Regions from separate parts of the Homo sapiens genome. Here all the other regions are linked to region 2. The links are contacts of gene promoters, found by promoter capture Hi-C in blood cells and fetal thymus (Javierre and others, 2016). All regions are on one chromosome and are shown on one strand. The core of a region is centred on a gene start or on the middle of the fragment in contact, and the rest is flanking DNA. Distances in the headings are between cores, read along the strand shown.

Region 1 (2,700 bases), core at 17-2,516, 330 kb before region 2:
CTGTGCCGTATCTGTTACACAGAGCAATACATAATGGACTAGACAGGATTATTGGCCCAAATGACAAAACCAGATGTGATATGGAAGTTTTTTTCCTATAACCACACATACATCTTTGGCCTCACACAGCTGTTCATTGTAAATAGGAAGATTCACACAATGGGCGAGATGGGGTGCAAAACCCACCATCCACATTCCTTTAGGGGTAGGAAGTGGAGAAGGGGCATTCCTCAGGTCTTGTCTCCTGGCCCCAGCAGGTGTGAGCTGTTGCCTACAGGATGTGATCTGCAGATTGTGAAGGGGCCACCTTCTAGAGGACAGCATGGTAGCAAAAACCTCTTGGGATGGGAACCTGGGCCCCAGTGCTGCCGTTTCATGTCCCGAGATTTGGGACAAGTCGTGTCAGCACTCCAAGCCTCAGTGTGCTTCATCCATGCAGTGGGGATGAGAGAGTCCTTGTCCTAAAAATGTCTTTCTCAGGTTTTTAAAGTTAGGATTATGTTGGCCTCATAAAATGAGATGGGAAATGGTCATTTCTTTTCTTTTTTTCTGAGAGCTTCTGTAAAATGGGTCTATAAGTATGTGATAGAAGTCACCAGTGAGACCATCTGGGTCTGAAGCTTTCTTTGTGGGAATGTTTTTGAATAAGATGATGAATTGAAATTTTTGAATAGAAATTGGGCTGCTTAGATTTTCTGTTTCTTGTTGAGTCAGCATTGGTAAGTTATGTTTTTTGAGACATATGTTCCTTGAAATAAATTATTGACTTTGTTGACAGAGTTCATAGTATTCTTTTATTATCCTTTTAGTGTCTGTAGGATCTATAGGATATCCCTTCTTTCATCCTTGAAATAAGTCATTTATGTTTACTTTATTTTTTTCTTGATTAATTCATAAGGATTTGTAAAGTTTATTAATCTTGTCAAAGAATAAAGCGTGGCTTTGCCAATTGTTTCTATTTGGAGTATGGTTTTTATTTCATTGCTTTCTGGTCTTTCATTTATTTCTTTTTTCTTATGTTCATACTTTTTTTCTCCGTTTTAGATTTAATGTGTTATTTTTCCAGCTTTCTAAGGTAGATACTTAGATCATTGATTTTAAACCTTTCTTCTTTTTAATATAAGCATTTAAGCTATAAATTACCATCTAAGCAATGCTTTAGTTGCATACCATACATTTTGGTATGTTGTATATTCATTATCAGTCAGTTTAAAATATTTTCTTTTTTCTTTCTTTCTTTTTTTTTTTTTTTTTAAGACACAGTCTCCCTCTGTTGCCCAGGCTGGAGTGCAGTGGCACAGTCTTGGCTCACTCAGCCTCTACCTCCCAGGTTCAAGTGATTCTTATGCCTCAGCCACCCAAATAGCTGGCATTACAGGCGTGCTCCACCAAGCCTGGCCAATTTTTGTGTTTTTAGTAGAGACCGGGTTTCACCATGTTGGTCAGGCTGGTCTCAAACTCTTGGCCTCAAGTGATCCGCCCACCTCGGCCTCCCAAAGTGCTTGGATTACAGGTGTGAGCCACCACGCCTGGCCTCAAAATATTTTCTAACTTCCCTTTTAATTAATTCTTTGACCCAGGTCCAAGTTCGAAGCATGTTATTTAATTTCTAAATATTTGGAGGATTTTCTAGGTATCTTATTGTAATTGGCTTGTAGCTTAGTTTTGTTTGCTGGAAGAATACATTCTGTAATACTTCAATTATTGGAAACATTTTGAGATATATTTTGGGCCTCAGCAAATGTTTGATCTCAGTCAATGTTCTATTTGCAGCTGAAAATCATGTGTATTTATACTTATTGGGTGTGGAAAGTTCTATAAATATCAATTAAGTTGTGTTGTTTGGATCTATATCTTTACTGTTTACTTTTTTGTATACTTGTCCTATTAATTACTAAGAGAGGGATTCATAGCAAGCTTTTTAAAGCATAAATCAGAATATGGCCTTCCCAGTGTAAATTCCTCAAAGTCATCTTAGTGCATTTAGAATAAAATCTAATCTAGCCTGGGCAACATGGCAAAACCCTGTCTCTACAAAAAATACAAAAAAAAATTAACCAGGCAGGGTGGTGCACGCCTGTGGTCCCAGCTACTCGGGAGGGTGAGGTGGGAGGCAGAGGTTGCAGTGAGCTGAGATCACGCTACTGCACTCCAGCCTGGGTGACAGAGTGAGAGACTGCGTCAAAAGAAAAAAAAAAAAAAGGAATAAAATAGAATCTTGCCCTGACCTGTAAGAGACTATATAATTCATTTCACGTCCTTCCCTCAGATCTCCTCTTCTAGGACACCAGCCACCTCCCCACCCTAAACACTAATTATACACCAGTCACTCTGGCTTTTTCTCTGTTCTCTTAACCCACTAAATCTATTCCTCAGGACTTTTGCATTTGCTATTGCTGTTCCCTTAGCGTGGGCTTATATCTTCACCCAGATGATCGCACAGCTACCTCCTTCACACCCCTTAAACCCAAATGTCATTGCCCCAGAGATACCTCCCAGGACCTCTCTATCTGGAGCATTCTTTATCACATCACCCTGAATTATTCTCTTTCAATAATTTTTAACTATTAAAATTAACCCCTTTTATTAATTTTTTTGTGTTTATGGTTTGTATGTTAGTTGTGTTCAATGCTCCATTTCTAAAGCTGAGAATAGAGCTGGCTTGTAGTGGATATTCAATAAATACTTGTTGTATGATTG
Region 2 (2,700 bases), core at 165-2,664:
CTTGGCCTGGGGAGGCGGGGGTGGGGAGAGAGGGTAAGCGCCGGGGCTCGGCTCCCAGCCCGCCGCCCCCTCGGATTCCTGGCCCGGCGGGGCCGGAGGAGGGGGCCCCGGACACACACACACACACACCCCCCACACGCAGCGCGCGCCAATGAGCCCGGGCCAGGCGCAGGGGGCGGGGTTTTCCCAGGCTCGAGCACAGCAGCTGCTATTTACCTTCTTGGCTTCTCCCGGGGACCAGGAACCGGCCCCCGCTCTCCGCCGCCCGTCGCCGCCCCCCGCCTCCCTGCCCCCGGGGCGCGCGCACACACACTCACTCACACACGCACGCACACACACATCCTCCCGGCCCGGCCGCAGCCGCGGCGGCAATAAAACATCCTGGCACGTGCTCCGGCTCCAGGCGCGCCCACGCCGGCCGGCTGATGTCAAACTGCAGCTCGGCTGGTGTAGCTCTTAAAGGGCCCGCGGGCGCCGGGGGCCGAGGCCGCCCGCGGGGCGAGGAGGGAGAGGCTGCTTCCTTGCCCGCCACCTCAACGCGCCGCAGAACCTAAAGCCTACGGATGAAAAGGGAAAGGGTGGTGAAGGAGGGCGCGAGTCCCTGAGTCATTGCCCTCGGAGCCCCCCTTGTTCATTTTTTCATTTGAAATACCGTTTCCTTCCACCCAGTTGGAAATTATTCTGATTGTTTCCTGGGGAAGCCCGGGGTCTAAGGCCCCAAATCCAAACGAGGAATTTCTGAAAGACGGGGTGGGGGTGGGATTCAAGAACTACCTTGCTCCGAAAAACCTGCATTTGTGAGGTAGAAGGCAATTTTTCCTTTTTCTGCATGGAAACAGGAAAATTTTTTTGGCCCTTTTCCTTTACCATCTACTTTCACCCTCCTGAATGTAAAGTCTGAGCGGGAACTTTAGATGTGTCGGTAACTCACATTCTTACACCCGTCCCCCCCTCCCCCCGCCCCCTTTTAACCACTGCTGTTTTTTTCTTTATTGTTTATACCTTTAAAAAAAATATGTTTCAAATGAACTTACTACAGTCAAAGCAGCTCTGTTACATATGAGAGAGGGCATAAAGAGCAAAGACCCTGGCTCCAAAAGAAATAGACAAGATCAAGACCAAAGCGGAAAGAAAAAAAAAATCTCTAAACCAAAGCCCAGAGGGAGAGTAGCAAAGGGTTAAAATCCTTTTGATTGACGTTGTAGCCTCCGGTGCCCTGGGCTCAGGCGCGCGCCATTGGCCGCCAGACCTTGTGCCTGGCGGCCAATGGGGGGGCGCGGTCCACGAGCGGTGCCGCGTGTCTCCTCCTCCCATTGGCTGAAAGTTACTGTGGGAAAGAAAGTTTGGGAAGTTTCACACGAGCCGTTCGCGTGCAGTCCCAGATATATATAGAGGCCGCCAGGGCCTAGGGATCACACAGGATCCGGAGCTGGTGCTGATAACAGCGGAATCCCCCGTCTACCTCTCTCCTTGGTCCTGGAACAGCGCTACTGATCACCAAGTAGCCACAAAATATAATAAACCCTCAGCACTTGCTCAGTAGTTTTGTGAAAGTCTCAAGTAAAAGAGACACAAACAAAAAATTCTTTTTCGTGAAGAACTCCAAAAATAAAATTCTCTAGAGATAAAAAAAAAAAAAAAAGGAAAATGCCAGCTGATATAATGGAGAAAAATTCCTCGTCCCCGGTGGCTGCTACCCCAGCCAGTGTCAACACGACACCGGATAAACCAAAGACAGCATCTGAGCACAGAAAGGTAAGGGCGGTACCTGTATCTCTTTGCAGCCCCTCAAAATTAAGTAGGGGTTGGGGGGCTTCTTTCTGTCTTGAAACCCCGGGATGGCAGATTCCATGGGAACACAGAACTCTTTTTTTTATTTGCAGTCATCAAAGCCTATTATGGAGAAAAGACGAAGAGCAAGAATAAATGAAAGTCTGAGCCAGCTGAAAACACTGATTTTGGATGCTCTGAAGAAAGATGTAAGTGGGGAAATGCTGCTCGCTCTTTTAATTAAAAAACAAACACTTTCTCAGCTACTAAGAGTGAAACCCCCCGCCCTGCGGGGTCTGGCACTCGCTGGTACTGCGTTCTCCCAGGCGGGAGGGCCCGGCCTTATTCGCTGGGGTCCAGAGATAATGCTTGCGCTCCGTGGCCGGGAGGAGGGACCCCCAGCACTCTGAAGCAGCTGACACGGGGCTCACTTTCCTTTCTTGCCTACTCTATGCAGAGCTCGCGGCATTCCAAGCTGGAGAAGGCGGACATTCTGGAAATGACAGTGAAGCACCTCCGGAACCTGCAGCGGGCGCAGATGACGGGTGAGGGCGGCTCGCCGCGTCCCCCTGTGCGGGCGTCCCGCTCGCCTCGCGGTGATTTCTTCCAGACTTCCGCCCGTGGTTGTGAGAGGCATTCAGCTACATTTTACTGCCTTGGCTCACTCTTGCGTTCCCACGGTCTGGGGCTTATTTATAGCCACAACTCCAAGTTGTTACTGTTCCGGAAAGGGAGGGAAAGAGGTTGCAGCCGCGAGGGTGGCGGGCGCCGGGTAGGGGCGAAAGGACTTAGGACTGTGGCGGTTTGGAACTGCGTGGAGCCTGGGGGTCACTGGTTTAGCACTCCTTCCCGTTGCAGAAGGGGAAATGAGGCTTGGATGATGGATTGGGAGGCATTGTCCAAGGTCACATCGCGCGCGGGGGTGGGGGT
Region 3 (2,700 bases), core at 147-2,646, 310 kb before region 2:
ATAAGTGATCTTGAAATCACTGAATAGTTATAAAAGATATTACTCTTGACCCTTTCCTTATACCATATACAAAAATTAATTCAAAATGGATTACAGGACTAAAACTATAAAACTTCTAGGAGAAAGTGAAGAAATTTTTTTTTAATAATTTTGGGTTAAGCAGATTCCTTAGGAAGCAGAAAATACAAATTATAAAAGAAAAAAACTTAGTCATTAGGCTTCATCGAAATTTAAAAATTTGTTCAGTGACAGGAAATGAAAGGTCACGGATTGGGAGAAAATATTTGCAAACTATCTGATTTGAATTAAGAATATATAAAGAACCCTTATAACTTAATAGCAAGAGAAACTACCCAATTAAAAGATTGGCAAAAGATATGAACAAATGTTTCACCAAAGAAGATATATGAATAGTCCAAAAGCACATAAAAAATGTTCAACACCACTGGTATTAGGGCAATACAAATTAAAATTAAAACCACAATAAGATCTAATTATATGCCTGCTAGGAAAATTAAAAAACAAAACAAAACAATATGGAGTGTTGATAAAGGCATAGAGAAACTGGGATCCTTGTAAGTTGCTAGTGGAAAGGTAAAATGGTAGAGCCTTTTTGCAAAAGTTTGGCATTTTCCTTTAAAAGTAAACACGTGCTTGCCATGCAACCCAGCAATTCTGCCCCTAGGTATTCACCCAAGAGAAATGAAAATCTGTGTCCTACCAAAGAGTTGTAAGTCAATATCCGTTGCAGGATTATTCATCATAACACTAAATGGAAGCAATGGCAATGTCTGTCAGTTGATGAATGGTTAAACAAAATGTGGTCTATTCATACAGTGAAAAACTATGCTCCAGAAGAAAGAAATATGTTACAAATTCAGGCAACAACATGAAGAAATCTCAAAAACAGGTTAAAAGAAAGAAGGCAGACACAAAGGACTACATGATTCCATTTGTATGAAATTTCTAAAAATGGCAAAACTCTAATGATAAAAGCATATCTGTGGTTGTCTGGGGCTGGTCTTGGGATCAGGGATCAACGGCAAAGTGGTGTGAGGGAAATTTTTGTGGCAATGAAAATGTTTTAAAACTTGAGTGTGGTAGTGGTTACAGGACTGTATAAATTCACTAAAACTCAGTGACCCATATGCTTCAAATGAATGAATTTTATGGCATGTAATTTATGCCACAGTAAATTGGTTTAGAAAAGTCTTTTAATACATGAAACACCTACTAAAACAAATGAATTAAAAAAAAAAACCCCCACAAAACTCTTGGCTTTGAATGACTGTGGTTCTGCCCTTTCCTGGTTCTCCTCATGCCTCCGGGATGAGTTGCAGTCTCTTTCATGGAACGCTCTCTTCTGCTAACCCGGTAATGAGTGTTGCCTCTCAGGATCCAGCCTTTGGCCACTGCTTTCTAATGCCAGAGCTCCTCTCTGCATCATTTCACTCATACTCCTGCTTTTCACAATGATCAAGTGACTGTCAGGGGTATGTTCCTATCCTGACCTCTTCTCTGAGCTTCAGACTCATTGATTCAGGTGGTTTTGTTTTTGTTAGTGTTTTTTTTTTTTTTCCTTCAGGATATCATTAGCTGGTGCCTGTGATAATGGACACCACATACTCCATTGATACAACATTTGACTCATCTTTCTCCTCCTTTACCTTCTCTTCCTCTCACATCCTTCATCTGTCTTAGTGTCACCACCATCCACACAAACATTCAAGCTAGAAATGTGAGGGTCAAATATATATCAATCACCAGACCTGGGTTTTGTTTTGTTTTGTTTTTTTTGAGACGGAGTCTCACTCTGTCGCCAGGCTGGAGTGCAGTGGCGCGATCTCGGCTCACTGCAACCTCCGCCTCCTAGGTTCAAGCGATTCTCGTGCCTCAGTATCCTGAGTAGCTGGGATTACAGGCATGCACTGCCACCGTGTCCAGCTAATTTCTGTATTTTCAGTAGAGGCGGGTTTTCACCATGTTGGCCAGGCTGGTCTCAAACTCCTGACTTTGTGATCTGCCCACCTCCGCTTCCCAAAGTGCTGGGATTACAGGTGTGAGCCACCATGCCAGACCCAGACCTGGTTTTTATTTTATTTTTGTTTTAAAATAAAGTTTACATAGAAAAAAATGCTCAGGTTTTAATGTTTAGTATGATTAATTTTGACAATCATACACATTCATGTCATAATCCTCAAAATAAAATATAAGACATTTCTATTCTTTGAGGAAGTTCCCTCATGCCTCTAACTGGTCAACAACCCCCCACCTAACACCCCAAAACACTTACATAAACCCACAAACTGGTGTCTAACATTATATATTCGTTTGTCTACATTTGGATTTCATGTAAATGGAATCATACAGTGTGTACTATTCTGGGTCTGGTTTCCTTCACTTCCCATAATGGTTTTGCCAGTCATCCATGTTACACTGAATATATAAATAGTTTGTTCCTTTCTATTGCTTAGTGATATTCCATTATATGGACATACCATAGGTTGTTTATCCATGTACTTCCTGGTGGACATCTGGGTTGCTGCCAGTTCTTCAATATTTGAATAAGACTGCCATAAACATTCTTTACAATTTTATTGGGAACATATTTTTCTTATACAAGTCTGTATAAACATAGTTTTCTTGGGCAAATACCTAGCAGTGGAATTGCTTGCTTATAGGGTAGATGTACACTTATAA
Region 4 (2,700 bases), core at 132-2,631, 290 kb before region 2:
CCACTGTGAGGCTTGTTATCCCCGTGTATTCCATCTCATGGGGTCTTCACCTTATGTGTGCGTCCTCGTTTAGACCACAGCTACCTGAACATAAGCAGGGCCGTGTCCTATGTGTCTTTTATTCTTCAAGCCTAGCATAGTCCCTCTATAAAAAGTGCTCAATAAATGCTTATTGTGATAGAAAATTCATAATGTGACTAAAATATGAATTAATAAATGCTTAAGACTACCAGCTATGAAGAAAGGATTGAGTCTTGTTCTGATTAGGTAGTATACAACAGACCATTCCAAATGCAGTGGCTTTATACAACAATGGACTATCATCCTCCCCAGCCTGTGGGTTGACTGGGTTCAGTTCCTATGTGGTTCCTGCCTGGAGTCTGGTTACAGTCAGCTGGAGGCCCAGGAAGGGATCATCTAAAGACTCAACTGGGATGGGCGTGAAAAATGGCCTCTTCCCCCACATGCGTGGGCCACAGTCGCAATGGCTGGAAGAACTGAGGCCTGAATAGGTGGCCATCCACATGTGACTCATTTAGGAGTCCTCACACCATGACAGTCTCAGGGTAGCCATACTTCTTACATGACAGTGGTTTTCCTCAAACAAGCATTCCTGAAGACCCAGGCCACACTGCAAGGCTTCCTATGACCCACTCAGAAGTCACACGGCATCACTTCTGCAGCATGCTGGTGGTCAAAAGCAAGTCACAGAGCAGGGCAGGTTCAGGAGGAGGAGACTTCACAAGGACATGGACCCATGTCCAATCAGAAACCTACATCAGGAAAGAAAAGTGAAACTTCATTACCCTAAGCATCACTGAAAGCAACACAGGGCAAAAATAAAAACTTCATGTAAAATATATATGTTTAAATAAAATACCTTAAGATATTTTAATAGGGCTTAGGGCCTCAGCTGTATATCGTATTGCACATATTATCAGGATAAACCTATAACACTTTGGGGCAAACAAACATTTGTGAGTCTCTGCAGAAGACAAGAAACTCAGAGTTTTAGAGAATGGCCAAAATCACCCCAGGGAACCTATAGGAAGCATTGCTTGTTGGTGGGGCAGCACTTTCAGCATTTGATGTAGAGCCTTATGCAGGTTTTCCTTCAGATCCCGCTTCTTAACATGTGGGCAGCTACCTGGACTGAATGAAAGGTGCTGGGAGTTAAAGACAGGCCAGGAAAACAACAACTCACAGGTAAGAATGTTCAACACATTTGTTTGTAGCAAACAAGAAAGAACCTCGGTGTCCAACAGTAGAGGACTTGTTACAAGCTGTTATGTTCTTACACAGTGGAAAATTATGCATTTGATACTGCTTAATGAATTTTAATGGCAAAGTGTACAACAAACCATCAGGTGAAAAAGGAGTCAATATACAAAAGTTTGCATGAAATATTCCAATTATGTTCAAATATGTACATGCACAGAGAAAAGGCTAAAAGGTTATATATCTTAATTTCAACAGTAGATATGTCCACATAGCAGAATTATTAAAATGTTTTAACATGTTTTACTTTGTGCTTTTTGTATTATACAAGTTCCACACAGTGAGCACATATAATTTTCATAATCAGAAAATAAAATTAAGAGTGAGATGAAACTCCAGTGGGAAGTTGGGGCTGCGTCATGGCCCCAAGGCCCCCCCAAAAGCCTTTTATCCTGGAGCTGCTAGGGATCAATATATTATCTCTTGTAGATGTGAGGCCTTATCAGCTACTACCTTAGATCAATACTGTGTGCTCTCATGTAAGTTTCTTAACTTCTCCATTCTCTGGTTATCTACTCCATCAAACAGGGGAGTTGGACAGTAGGATTAAATCTTTAGAACTTCAGAATTTACAAGCACTTTCTCTTATCCTATTCCTCTTCACAATAGCCGGATGGCAGAATCAAGGCAAGCCTTATCACTGTTTGGCCTATGGGAAAACAGGCTCAGCAAAGTCAGGTCAGTAGCCCAGGGTCACACAGATGTTAGGCAGCGGTGAGCATTCAAAACCAGGTCTTTGGGCTTTACTCCAGCAGATCTGACTGGTAAATCAGGATTCCTTTCCTAGATCAACTGTAAACTCCCATCCTGTCATAAAACTCCGGCCAAAATTTCTGCCTTCTGAGATCACATATCCTAGGACTAATGTCTTTCTTGTTTCTGTATTCCAAGGATCTTAAAGGCAGCTCTAACATCTCCTTTGAGTTATCTCCAGTTCTGTCTGCTCCTGCTCAAATGACATTGTATGGGGTCCACACACCATTTTAGAATCCCAGAATCAGAATTGGAAAATATATTTAAAGGTCATCTGTCCTAAGAAGTCCCTGTCAGTCTTTTACAGAAAGCCTCTCATCTGAAAAAGTCCCTCGACAATGCTCCCAAGGGGGTCCTTGGGCCCAGGGCCAGGGCGATGAAGTGCCCTTTCCTCTACCGAGTGGGGAGACATACACAGGTGACCTTAATTCAAAGAGGGAATGTTTGGGGCTGCAAAGTTTGAGGCCGAGTGACTCAGGCCTTTTCACAGGGACATCGTGCACAATGGAAAGATCTGAAAGTTCCAAAGGGAAAGAAAACCAGAAAGGCCAAGACAACTCACACACACAGAAAGCCAGCTTAGAACAAATCCAGAGGGCCAAGAAGAAACCTGTGGAAAAAAATCTCTCTCCTAAGAGGGCTCTATTGTGTGTACTCTGGGTCAAAAGA
Region 5 (2,700 bases), core at 27-2,526, 270 kb before region 2:
CCTACTGGACCATTCAGCCTGAGACATGCTGTAGTCTCTCCATTAAAAGAGTCCTCCACTGGCTCCTTACATCCTCTCTGTCCTAGTCGGTTTGGCTACTATAACAAACTATCATAGATTGGATGGTTTATACACAACAGAAACTTGTTTCTCACAGTTTGGGAGGCCAGAAGTCTGAGAACAGGATGCTAGTCTGGTCAGGTTCATTGAGGGCCTCCTTCCAGGTGCAGGCTGCAGACCTCTCATTGCAGCCATACATGGTAGAAAGACCGCCAGAGAGCTCTCTGGGGTCTCATGTGTGAGGGCACTCATCCCATTCATGAGGGATTTACCCTCAGGACCTAATGACCTCCCAAGGCCCCCTCACCTAATACCACCACAGTGGGATTTGGAGTTCAGTGTACAGATTTGGGAGGCACACAACATTCAGTTCATAGCACTCTCTAACTACTACCCCAGTTTCCTTTTTCAGCCAATAATGATGCCCAAAGTCACATGCCCTCTGGGAGCATTACCCACAGGAACATGTGGGATTGGTTCATTGCCACAGAGATTTGGTGGGGCCCAAAGGAACTTCTAGAAACTTCAAGTTTACACATCACTACATCTGCTTTTGTTGTCTCTGTGGACTCCCAGTCGCTTCACAGGAGGCCGCTGGATGCTGCTGAACATGCATCTCGGGGGCCTGGGGGAGCTGAGTGCCACTCCCAGGTTGGCTCAGACTCGGCCCTAAGCACCGCGTAGTGATGTGCTTCCCCTGCCACCCCCCACCTCACCGCACTCTCCTCGCTATGTTCTCTCCATCTCCAGGAGACACTTCCCCTTCAAGGCCCCATTTAAAATTCTCCTTTTCTGTGAAGACTTTGCTGATCTCACAGCCAGACAAGCCTCTCCTTCCACTGGACTCAACATCCTTTTGCCCGTATCAAGAAGGTAGCAATTGTCATGCTCCACATGGGTCTCCCTGACAAGCCCGGGCACTGCCTGGTGGCAAGAACCGCACCTCATTCATCTTTATGGTGCCCAACACCCGCTAGACTCTCAGGATTGTTGGATAAAGGAAGACTTCTTTGCCAGACATTGAGCAAGACTCAGTTTTTGTAAGGTGTATATGCTCATCTCTAAAATAGGGGCAGACAGGCCTACTCAAATCCAGTGAGTCCAGCAATGGGGGGAATGCCTTGCAAATCCTAGAGAACTGCAAGGATGTGTGAGGATTCTTCTCCATGCCATCACATACTTCTCAGGGCCAGCCTGGTGACCTGGCCCAAGAGAAGCAGGTATAAGATCATTCCGGCCATGCATGTTTTCATTTCCATGAGATGAAGAACTGTGTGTCAGTTTTGACTCTTACATACTGATGCCAGATGCACTCTTGCGTGTGTGGATCTCTCCCCAGTCCAGGGCAGTAACCTCACAATGGTACCTACAGATGCACAGGAGTTGCCTAAACATTGCAAAAGGAAGGACAGAATTAGAGCAGTTAGTTTTCTTAGGCTTCCTGTAGAGCTTGTCTCAATACCCACCCAGAGGGCACTGGAGGGTGAAGAAATTTCCTTTCTCAAGCCCTTCATTCACTCACTCATTCCCTCTCAGCTTCAGCGCACTCCCTGGTGGAAACAAACAGGTAACGGGGTGGTAAGCCCTATGACAGACCTTTGCAAATGTCCTCAGAGGCGTGCAGAGGAGGAACACTTACGCCAGACTCCGGGGAGAAGCTGCCTGCGGGAGCTCTCACCTGAGGAGGACACAGGAAGGGTTTTCCTTGCAGCAGGAACAGCTTACGCAAAACCTGGATGTGAGCAAGAACATGATGTGCTCCCAGAAGAATAAACTGTTCAGAGCGGCTGGCGTGTAAAGGGTAAAGGCTGAGTGAGCAGAAATGCCACCAGAGCAGGGGGTGAGAGCCAGACCAGGGGCCCTTAGGAGCCAGGCCGAGGGTCCTCTCTGAAGGATGCCTGAAATGCCTCCGCTGCAGCTTGCTAGAGGCCTTCTAATTAACCTGCGAAGAACCGTCTGCAGGCCCCCAGTCCGGTGTTCACTCGTTCATTCATTCGCTCTTCACTGGGTGCCCTGGCACTCCAAGCCTCCAGCGCACACCCAGCCCTAACCTTGACCAGGGTGCTGAGCACGAGGAGCCCCACCCTGAGCCAGGCCTGGAGAGGCGCCTTTAAGCGCAGGTCCTGCGGCTGCTGACAGGTCATCAGAGCTGGGACCAAAGACCCGCCGGGAGGCTGGCAGCCTAGGTCGCTTCCCAAGCTCTCCGGGCCCTTCCCTTCGGCGGCTAATTTCCACTTTTCATAAGGATGTGTTCATTCAGGGGACTAGGAGCAGAGGCGCGCCCGATGGGGGACACGTGCCCCCTCGACGGCACGCGCTTTGATGCTCGCGGGGGCCAGAGGCGAGGCGGCCAGCATCTCGCGTTCCTGCGCCGGACGCTGTCTTTGGGAAGCTCCAGGCGTAGGTTCGCATTGCGTGCGGGAAGCCCCCTGCCCACATGAAAGGCTCGCTGTCGGGCTGTGGGTCCCGGCTCCCGCCCCCAGCCCTGCAGACACACTCCGCTCCCAGCGAGGAGCCCCGGAGCCGCACAAAGGAAATGGCAAGAGACTGAGTCACCACCATCCAGAGAGGCTCGCCCGCGGCCCGGGCCGCGGCCACAACAGGACCTTTGTGCTGCGCTCCAGGAAGACGAGGAGGGCC

What was found. Contacts are between HindIII fragments. The CHiCAGO score rates a contact against its expected background, and 5 or more counts as called.
Region 1: a contact is called between a fragment that was not itself captured here and the fragment with the promoter of HES1 in region 2, in 10 of 17 cell types (total B cells, naive B cells, megakaryocytes and 7 more). The highest score is 19.5, in total B cells.
Region 3: a fragment that was not itself captured here is called in contact with the fragment with the promoter of HES1 in region 2 in 6 of 17 cell types (total B cells, M1 macrophages, M0 macrophages and 3 more); the score reaches 11.9 in total B cells.
Region 4: a fragment that was not itself captured here is called in contact with the fragment with the promoter of HES1 in region 2 in 8 of 17 cell types (total B cells, megakaryocytes, naive B cells and 5 more); the score reaches 13.5 in total B cells.
Region 5: a contact is called between a fragment that was not itself captured here and the fragment with the promoter of HES1 in region 2, in 1 of 17 cell types (total B cells). The highest score is 5.6, in total B cells.

Annotation. Positions count from the first base shown.
Region 1 is chr3:193,800,587-193,803,286 of GRCh38, forward strand. No RefSeq gene overlaps it. Among named protein-coding and RNA genes, the nearest start is that of LINC02038, 42 kb to the right of the region's middle. The HindIII fragment of the contact is 1,297 bases long and covers 619-1,915 here.
Region 2 is chr3:194,134,734-194,137,433 of GRCh38, forward strand. It overlaps HES1 (hes family bHLH transcription factor 1), which reads left to right and starts at 1,415. Exons shown (of 4, transcript NM_005524.4): 1 at 1,415-1,755; 2 at 1,884-1,979; 3 at 2,228-2,315. The coding sequence starts at 1,648. RefSeq lists a silencer at 1-382 and enhancers at 1,373-2,572, 1,382-1,541. The HindIII fragment of the contact is 7,369 bases long and covers 1-2,700 here.
Region 3 is chr3:193,821,976-193,824,675 of GRCh38, forward strand. No RefSeq gene overlaps it. Among named protein-coding and RNA genes, the nearest start is that of LINC02038, 21 kb to the right of the region's middle. The HindIII fragment of the contact is 5,516 bases long and covers 1-2,700 here.
Region 4 is chr3:193,849,667-193,852,366 of GRCh38, forward strand. No RefSeq gene overlaps it. Among named protein-coding and RNA genes, the nearest start is that of LINC02038, 7.0 kb to the left of the region's middle. The HindIII fragment of the contact is 3,497 bases long and covers 1-2,700 here.
Region 5 is chr3:193,867,227-193,869,926 of GRCh38, forward strand. No RefSeq gene overlaps it. Among named protein-coding and RNA genes, the nearest start is that of LINC02038, 25 kb to the left of the region's middle. RefSeq lists an enhancer at 2,244-2,700 and a silencer at 2,414-2,700. The HindIII fragment of the contact is 9,161 bases long and covers 1-2,700 here.